Regions from separate parts of the Homo sapiens genome. Here region 1 is linked to region 2. The links are contacts of gene promoters, found by promoter capture Hi-C in blood cells and fetal thymus (Javierre and others, 2016). All regions are on one chromosome and are shown on one strand. Each heading gives the region's core, a stretch centred on a gene start or on the middle of the fragment in contact. The rest is flanking DNA. Distances are from core to core; before and after follow the strand shown. Region 1 overlaps ADGRL1-AS1 (ADGRL1 antisense RNA 1). Region 2 holds the start of MRI1 (methylthioribose-1-phosphate isomerase 1).

Region 1 (3,528 bases), core at 585-3,084, 380 kb after region 2:
CCCGAGTAGCTGGGACTACAGGCACACGCTACCTTACCCAGCTAATTTTTGTATTTTTAGTAAAGATGGGGTTTCACTATGTTGGCCAGGCTGGTCTCAAACTCCTGACCTCAGGTGATCCACTCACCTCGGCCGCCCAAAGTGCTGAGATTACAGGCATGAGCCACCGTGCCCTGCCTCTTATACTTTTTAAATTTTTTGTAGAGACAGGGTCTCGCTGTTGCCCAGGCTGGTCTTGAAACTCCTGGCCTCAAGCAGTCCACCTATCTTGTCCTTAAGTGCTGGGATTACAGCGCCTAGCCCATTTTTGGTATCTACATCTCACATTAAGTTAAGAAAAATTCTTTTTAGCTGTTAAAAAATCGAAAGCTTTGTTTTTATTCTTTTGAAATTATTTGGCTTCAAGGAAACTCACATTTATGATTCGCTTGATTTCTTGGCAATCATTGCATACTTAGGGATATTTGTGATTTGAGAAAATCTAATTTCCAAATGTAATTCGATTGCTTATGAATACTAAATTTAATGATTAATGCAGTTGTCATGATGTCACATTTCTAGATGCTTAATTAAACATTTATTCATTCCAACTTTGTAGTTTTCTCTTTGCATTGTGGAACTTTTTTCCCTTTATCCCTGTCCCTGACCTTTTCGTAGCCCCTGAGAAGCTCATGATCCACCAGCATTATTTCCGTGGCGCTAATGAAGAATGTGGCCCTGTCTATGATGCATTCTCCTTACAGCTGGCTGAATGATCTTCACTTGTAAACCAGATCATGTCATTACTCTGCTTAAAACCTTCAGAGGCTTATCCTACTTAGAATGAAACCTAAGATCTTTCCTATGGCTTAGGCGGCCCTGCGTGGTGGCCTCAGCTGACCTCTCAGGCCTCATCTACCATTCTTCCTCTTGTCACCGCTCTCAAGCCCAGCTGGCTTTATTTCCCTTCTTTCAACACACCCAGCTTATTTCTGCCGCAGGGCTTTGCACTTGCCGTTCCCTCTGCCTGGAATGTGCTTCCTCCAGATAATTGCATGGCTGTCTCTTTCTCTTCGCTTGTGGTTCAGCTCAAATGTCCTCTGAAAGAAGACTTCCCAGAGTACCCTATTTAAAGTAGCACTTTCTTGGCCGGGCGCGGTGGCTCATGCCTGTAATCCCAGCACTTTGGGAGGCCAAGGCAGGCGGATCACGAGGTCAGGAGATCGAGACCATCCTGGCTAACATGGTGAAACCGCATCTCTACTAAAAATACAAAAAATTAGCCGGGCGTGGTGGCGGGCGCCTGTAGTCCCAGCTACTTGGGAGGCTGAGGCAGGTGAATCGCTTGAATCTGAGAGGTGAGGGTTGCAGTGAGCTGAGATCGTGCCTCTGCAATCCAGCCTGGGTGACAGAGCAAGACTCCGTGTCAAAAAAAATAAATAAATAAATAAAGTAGCTTTTTCTTAATCACATCACTCAGTTTTATGATCTTAGTAACGCATATCAGAATTTGTACTTATTTTCGGGTGGGCATGGTGGCTCACACCTATAATCCCAGCACTTTAGGAGGCCAAGGCGGGCCGGTCACTTGAGGTCAGGAGTTCGAGACCAGCCTGGCCAACATGGCAAGACCCCGTTTCTACTAAAAAAAAAAAATACAAAATAAATAAATAAATAAATAAATAAATTAGCTGGGCGTGGTGGCACGTGCCTGTAGTCCCAGCTGCTCAGGAGGCAGAAGAATTGCTTGAACCGGGGAGGCAGAGGCTGCAATGAGCCGAGATCACGCCACTGCACTCAAGCCTGGGCAACTGAGAGAGATTCCATCTTAAAAAGAAAAAAAGAATTTCTACTTATTTTGGTTTTAAATTGTGCTTATTATCTCATCATCCCTCAGTAGATTGAAAGCTGGTTGTGAGAAGAGATCTCGCCTAGCTCACACCTCTCAATGTTGTACTTCCAGAGCTTAGCAGAGGACGTGGCTCATAGAAAGTCCTCAATCAATTTTTCAAAAAGAATAAATCTGGCTGGGCGCAGTGAGTCACACACTCTGGGAGGCCGAGGTGGGCGGATTACCAGGTCAGGAGATCGAGACCATCATGGCAAACATGATTAAAACCTGTCTCTACTAAAATACAAAAAATTAGCCAGCCGTGGTGGTGCGTACCTGTAGTCCTAGCTACTTGGGAGGCTGAGGCAGGGGAATTGCTTGAACCTGGGAGGTGGAGGTTGCAGTGAGCCTAGATTGCACCACTGCACTCCAGTCTGGTGACAGAGGAAGACTCCGTCTCAAAAAAAAAAAGAATAAATCTATGTAAAGGGTGGGTTTAGCATAGTACCTGGAATGTGAAAAGTACTCAATAAACATGAACCAGCCAGGTGCAGTGGCTCACGCCTGTAATCCCAGCACTTTGGGAGGCTGAGGCGGGTAGATTGCTTGACCTCAGGAGTTCGAGACCAGCCTGGGCAAAACCCTGTCTCTACAAAACATAAAAAAATTAGCCGGGTGTGGTGGCATGTGCCTGTGGTCCCAGCTACTCAGGAGGCTGAGGTGAGAGGATTGCTTGAGCCCTGGGGGCAGAGGTTGCAGTGAACCAAGATCTCACCACTGCACTCCAGCTTAGCTAGGCAACAGAGTGAGACCCTGTCTAAAAACAAACAAAAGACTGAACTGTTAGTAGCATATAGTAATAAGCAGATACGTCTTCATTCTTGTTTAATACTTCAGGTGCACACATGCTCGAGAAAGTATAAGAAGTGCTATAGCAAAATACTGTTACCCAGCTTAACAGCTAAAACATTAGAGATGCAACTGAAGGGCCCTATACCCCTACATCAAACCCATTCCTCTTCCTTTTTCCTCACATGTAACCACAACCCTGAATTTGGTGTTTACAGTCTTCTGTGCATATCGGCGTGTATCTTTAAACAATATATAGTATTGTTTGTCATGTTCTATACTTTTATATAAATGGTGTCTGCGCAATTTAGAGTTAACCTAGCAGGCCTGAGACTGCTATCCTTAGAAAGACCTGTTTGCAAGATTGGCCCTTGGCTGATATCTAGGAACTTGGATTTCAGGAGGGTTCCTGCCGTTCCCCAAATGATGAGTGCCTAAACTGTTTCCACCAACAATGTGGTTCATGTTGAACACCTGCTCTCCTTCTGGAGTCTGGCATTTTGGTACACGACCACCCCCAAGTACAACTCTGGTCACTGAGTAATGAGCTTCCCTGGTAGACCGCCTATCCGTCGTGCTGTCATACTTGGCGGTAGGAATTGATGGAGTCCTGTGTGACTCCACTAGGAGAGGACTCTTAGAAGCTTGTCCTGGTTTCCTCTGGACTTCAGCTCCTGCATCTTTTCCCTTTGCTGATTGTGCCTTGTGTCTCTTCACTATCATAAATCACAGCCATGCCTACGCTTCCAAGCAAAATCCTGTGACTCCTCTTAGTGAGTCATTGAACCTCAGGGTGGTCTTGGGGACCTCTGATAGCAGGATCATACTGGGTGTATCCTGACAGAGCTGGCACTAAGGTGGCACTGGGT
Region 2 (3,791 bases), core at 309-2,808:
CCAGCAGGCTCCTCCCAGGAGGCAGCTGACACCCCCGACACGCGGCACCCCTGCAGTCTCGGCTCCTCCCTCGTGGCGGACTACTCCGACTCGGAGAGTGAGTGAGCGATCCCCATCCTGGAGACTGGACCCGCTCTAGAGGCCCGGACACACCCAGGAGGCCCCTCACAGACTGCAGACCCCCGGCTCGCCCACCAGCCCTGGGAGAGCTCAGATGCCGCATCCTCCCCAGACCGCGCCTTCCTGCAACCGTGGAGTTATTTATTTGGTCCTGGTGAGGGTGTTTGTGCCTTGTGAGACTCCGTACATTAAAGACCTGTCTCTTCTTCCCTGTCTTGGGTTGTTAGATGGACCCTGGGGCTGCCCCCCCACCCCCCCACCTTGACCAAGCTTGGTAGGCCTCTCATCAGCAAATGCTGGTATAGGGTCATAGCTGTGACCACAGACATGGTCCCCTTCCAGAGTAACAAGAGTCTCAAGGTGGTGGTCCCGGTTGGCCAGGAATCAGGACAGACTTCCTGGAGGAGGAGGCATGGGCCAAGTGTGAAGGGTGAAAAGGGGGCCAGGAACCACACACACAAGGCCAGGGACAAGGCACACGGGGTACCCAGGATGTGTGCCAGATGCAGCAGGGGCTGGAGCACACAGGTGTGAGCTTTTTATTATACCCAGCCCAGGGGTGGCCCATGGAAAAGCCCCCCGTGCATGTTACTTTTGGGGTTTTTTTGTTTTGTTTTTGAGACCGAGTCTTGCTCTGTCACCCAGGCTGGAGTGCAGTGGCGCGATCTCGGCTCACTGCAACCTCTGCCTCCTGGGTTCAAGTGATTCTTCTGCCTCAGCCTCCCGAGCAGCTGGGACTACGGGTGTGCGCCACCACGCCCAGCTAATTTTTTGTATTTTTAGTAGAGACTGGGTTTCACCATGTTGGCCAGGCTGGTCTCGAACTCCTGACCTCAAGTGATCTGCCCGACTCGGCCTCCCAAAATGCTGGGATTCCAGGCGTGAGCCACAGCGCCTGTCCTGCATGTTACTTTTGAATGAAACCGAGCAGAAAATGGCCCAGAAACAGCCTTGCATCCATCAAGGGGCACACGACCCCCCACTACCTCCCCCTCAACCTTGGAAGATCATTTAACAAATTCTTTGGTTTGAACACTTGATGTTACCTTGCCACTGGGGATACATCCCTAACTCTAGACAGCAGGTTGTTAAACACGGGGCCTGGTATCCACTAGGCGTCCCATAAATGCTGCCACTTTTGTGGTTCCGAGGAGGCGGCTCACTCCGTTCGGGCTTGGCAGGAGTCGTGGAGTGGGTTCGGCCACGTGGAATCCGCGTCCTGGGAACCCGTGGAATCCGCGTCCTGGGAACCCGTGGAATCCGCCTCCTGGGAACCCGTGGAATCCGCCTCCTGGGAACCCGTGGAATCCGCCTCCTGGGAACCCGTGGAATCCGCCTCCTGGGAACCCGTGGAATCCGCCTCCTGGGAACCCGTGGAATCGGGTTGGATGCGCATGTGCGTGTCTCTTTTTCCGGGGGAGGCTCCGCCCACGGCCCCGCCCCGCTCCCAAGTGCGCGCGGACCCCTAGCTCCCTCTGAGTTGCGCTGGGCTTGGCTGCTGCACCATGACCCTGGAGGCGATCCGCTACTCGCGGGGCTCCCTGCAGATCCTAGACCAGCTGCTGCTGCCCAAGCAGAGCCGCTACGAGGCGGTGGGCTCGGTGCACCAGGCCTGGGAGGCCATCCGCGCCATGAAGGTGCAGCGGGGCGGCGGGGCGGCGGGGCGGCGGGGCGGCGGGGCGGCGGGGCGGCGGGGCGGCGGGGCGGCGGGGCGGCGGGGCGGCCGGGTTGGAGGTGGGAGTGCGCCCGCGCCTGCAGCTTCCGACGCCCAAATCCCTGCCCCGCAGGTGCGGGGCGCCCCGGCCATAGCCCTGGTGGGCTGTCTCAGCCTCGCCGTGGAGCTGCAGGCGGGCGCCGGGGGACCGGGACTCGCCGCGCTCGTGGCCTTCGTGCGCGACAAGCTGAGCTTCCTCGTCACCGCCCGGCCCACCGCTGTCAACATGGCCCGCGCCGCCCGCGACCTGGCTGATGTTGCAGCCCGGGAGGCCGAACGGGAGGGCGCTACGGAAGAGGCGGTCCGGGAGAGGTACGGGGATCTGGTACCAGGCACGGCGCTGAGCAGGAATTATATTGACTCTTTTTAAGTACAGTGACCCACTATACAGATGGGGAAACTGAGGCACGGCGACCTTAAGTCCCTTGTCCAGGGCCCCACAGATGGGGAGACTGAGGCACGGCGACCTTAAGTCCCTTGTCCAGGGCCCCACAGATGGGGCCCAGAGTCTAGCCTGGGCAGCCTGGCCCTGAAACCTAACTCCTTAATCGTGCCTCCCCTGAATACACGCAGCCCCTTATCCGCCCTTGGAGGCCCTTTTTAGTATCTCCGTGTTCTCTTGGTTTCTGCTTTTGAGGAACTTTTTTTCCTGTCCTGGTCCCCTTCCTGCCATCTTTTTCCCCCCACTTCCTTTCTGCTCCAGCCCTCCCTGCAATGTCACTTTACCCCACCAAGCTCGAGCCTGCCTTACAGCCTTTGCACGTGCCATTGGTGCGGGCCAGGTATCCATAGCGCCCTCCTCCACCATTCTATATGATCCAGCTCACCCGCTGCTCTCTGTTGCCTGATTCTGCCGGCTTTTCCTTCATTTTATTATCTCTTCATCAGCTGGCTCACTCACCCCAGTGTCAACTCCACAGGAGCAGAGATTTTTGTCTTGTTTACTGCTGGGTCATACCGGAACTGCTTGGTAAACATGTCTTTGCATGAATGAACGGAGTGACACTTCGGTGGCCCTGGCCGAAGGGTCCAGGCCCCACAGCAATGAGAGGCTTTGAGCAGGAGGGCTCCAGGACAGCAGCGTTAGGCAGAGAGGAGGCGTTGGCCTGGGCCCCGGGTCCTGGTGGCTGGTGCTGAAAACTCCTTGTCACCCCAGAGTGATCTGCTGCACCGAGGACATGCTGGAGAAAGACCTCAGAGACAACCGAAGCATTGGGGACCTAGGAGCCCGCCACCTCCTGGAGCGGGTGGCCCCCAGCGGTGGCAAGGTGACTGTGCTGACCCACTGTAACACTGGTGCTCTGGCCACCGCTGGCTATGGTACAGCCCTAGGTGAGAGGGCCTCCTCAGGGGGTAGGGGAGGGCCTTCTAGGAACTTTTTTAGATACAAGAGAAAGAATCCCAAACCCAAACCACTTTATCCACAAAAAAAATGGGAAGGTACTAGTTCTAGTACGGAAACACTTATACAGTTGGCTTCAGGTATGGCAAGATCAAGGGGCTCAACCAGTAGCATCAGGACCTATCTATCTCTGTGCTTCAGCTCTGCCCTCCTTCATCTTCAGGTTCCATGGGCTGGCAGGCGGCTGTTAGGGTCCAAATCATGAGGAAAAGAGCCTCCTATACTAGAAAAGTCTCCTTGTATCTCAGGGGGTCCACTAGGGCACCTGCCCATCCCAGAGCAGTCATTCGATGGGCCCCGCCTGAGCCATATGCCTAGAGCCAGGGCAGGACGTGGACTCCAGGAGGAACTGGGGAGAAGGGAGTGAGCAGAGAAAGATTAGGTAGCTGTGACCAGGAGACAGGGGGAGTGGGCTGTAGGGGGCCAAGGCAGCAGATTCCACTTGACCCTAAATTCACCAGGAAATTTCCCTACCTGCCTGAGTCCCACCTTCATCCCTGGGAACTGAGGCCTTAATGGAAAGACCTCTGCCTTTGATTCATTCACTCACCCAGC

The links. The method cuts DNA at HindIII sites, captures the fragments that hold promoters and counts their contacts. A CHiCAGO score of 5 or more calls a contact.
Region 1: a fragment that was not itself captured here is called in contact with the fragment with the promoter of MRI1 in region 2 in 3 of 17 cell types (neutrophils, naive CD8 T cells and non-activated CD4 T cells); the score reaches 6.0 in neutrophils.

The regions. Positions count from the first base shown.
Region 1 is chr19:14,139,204-14,142,731 of GRCh38, forward strand. The region is part of intron 1 of ADGRL1-AS1 (ADGRL1 antisense RNA 1); the gene reads left to right. Among named protein-coding and RNA genes, the nearest start is that of ADGRL1-AS1, 3.8 kb to the left of the region's middle. The HindIII fragment of the contact is 2,934 bases long and covers 368-3,301 here.
Region 2 is chr19:13,762,964-13,766,754 of GRCh38, forward strand. MRI1 (methylthioribose-1-phosphate isomerase 1) reads left to right here and starts at 1,559. Exons shown (of 6, transcript NM_001031727.4): 1 at 1,559-1,757; 2 at 1,908-2,146; 3 at 2,991-3,166. The coding sequence starts at 1,626. YJU2B (YJU2 splicing factor homolog B) reads left to right here. Exons shown (of 10, transcript NM_030818.4): 10 at 1-326. The coding sequence ends at 105. RefSeq lists enhancers at 1-286, 2,756-3,385 and a silencer at 1,929-1,978. The HindIII fragment of the contact is 24,803 bases long and covers 389-3,791 here.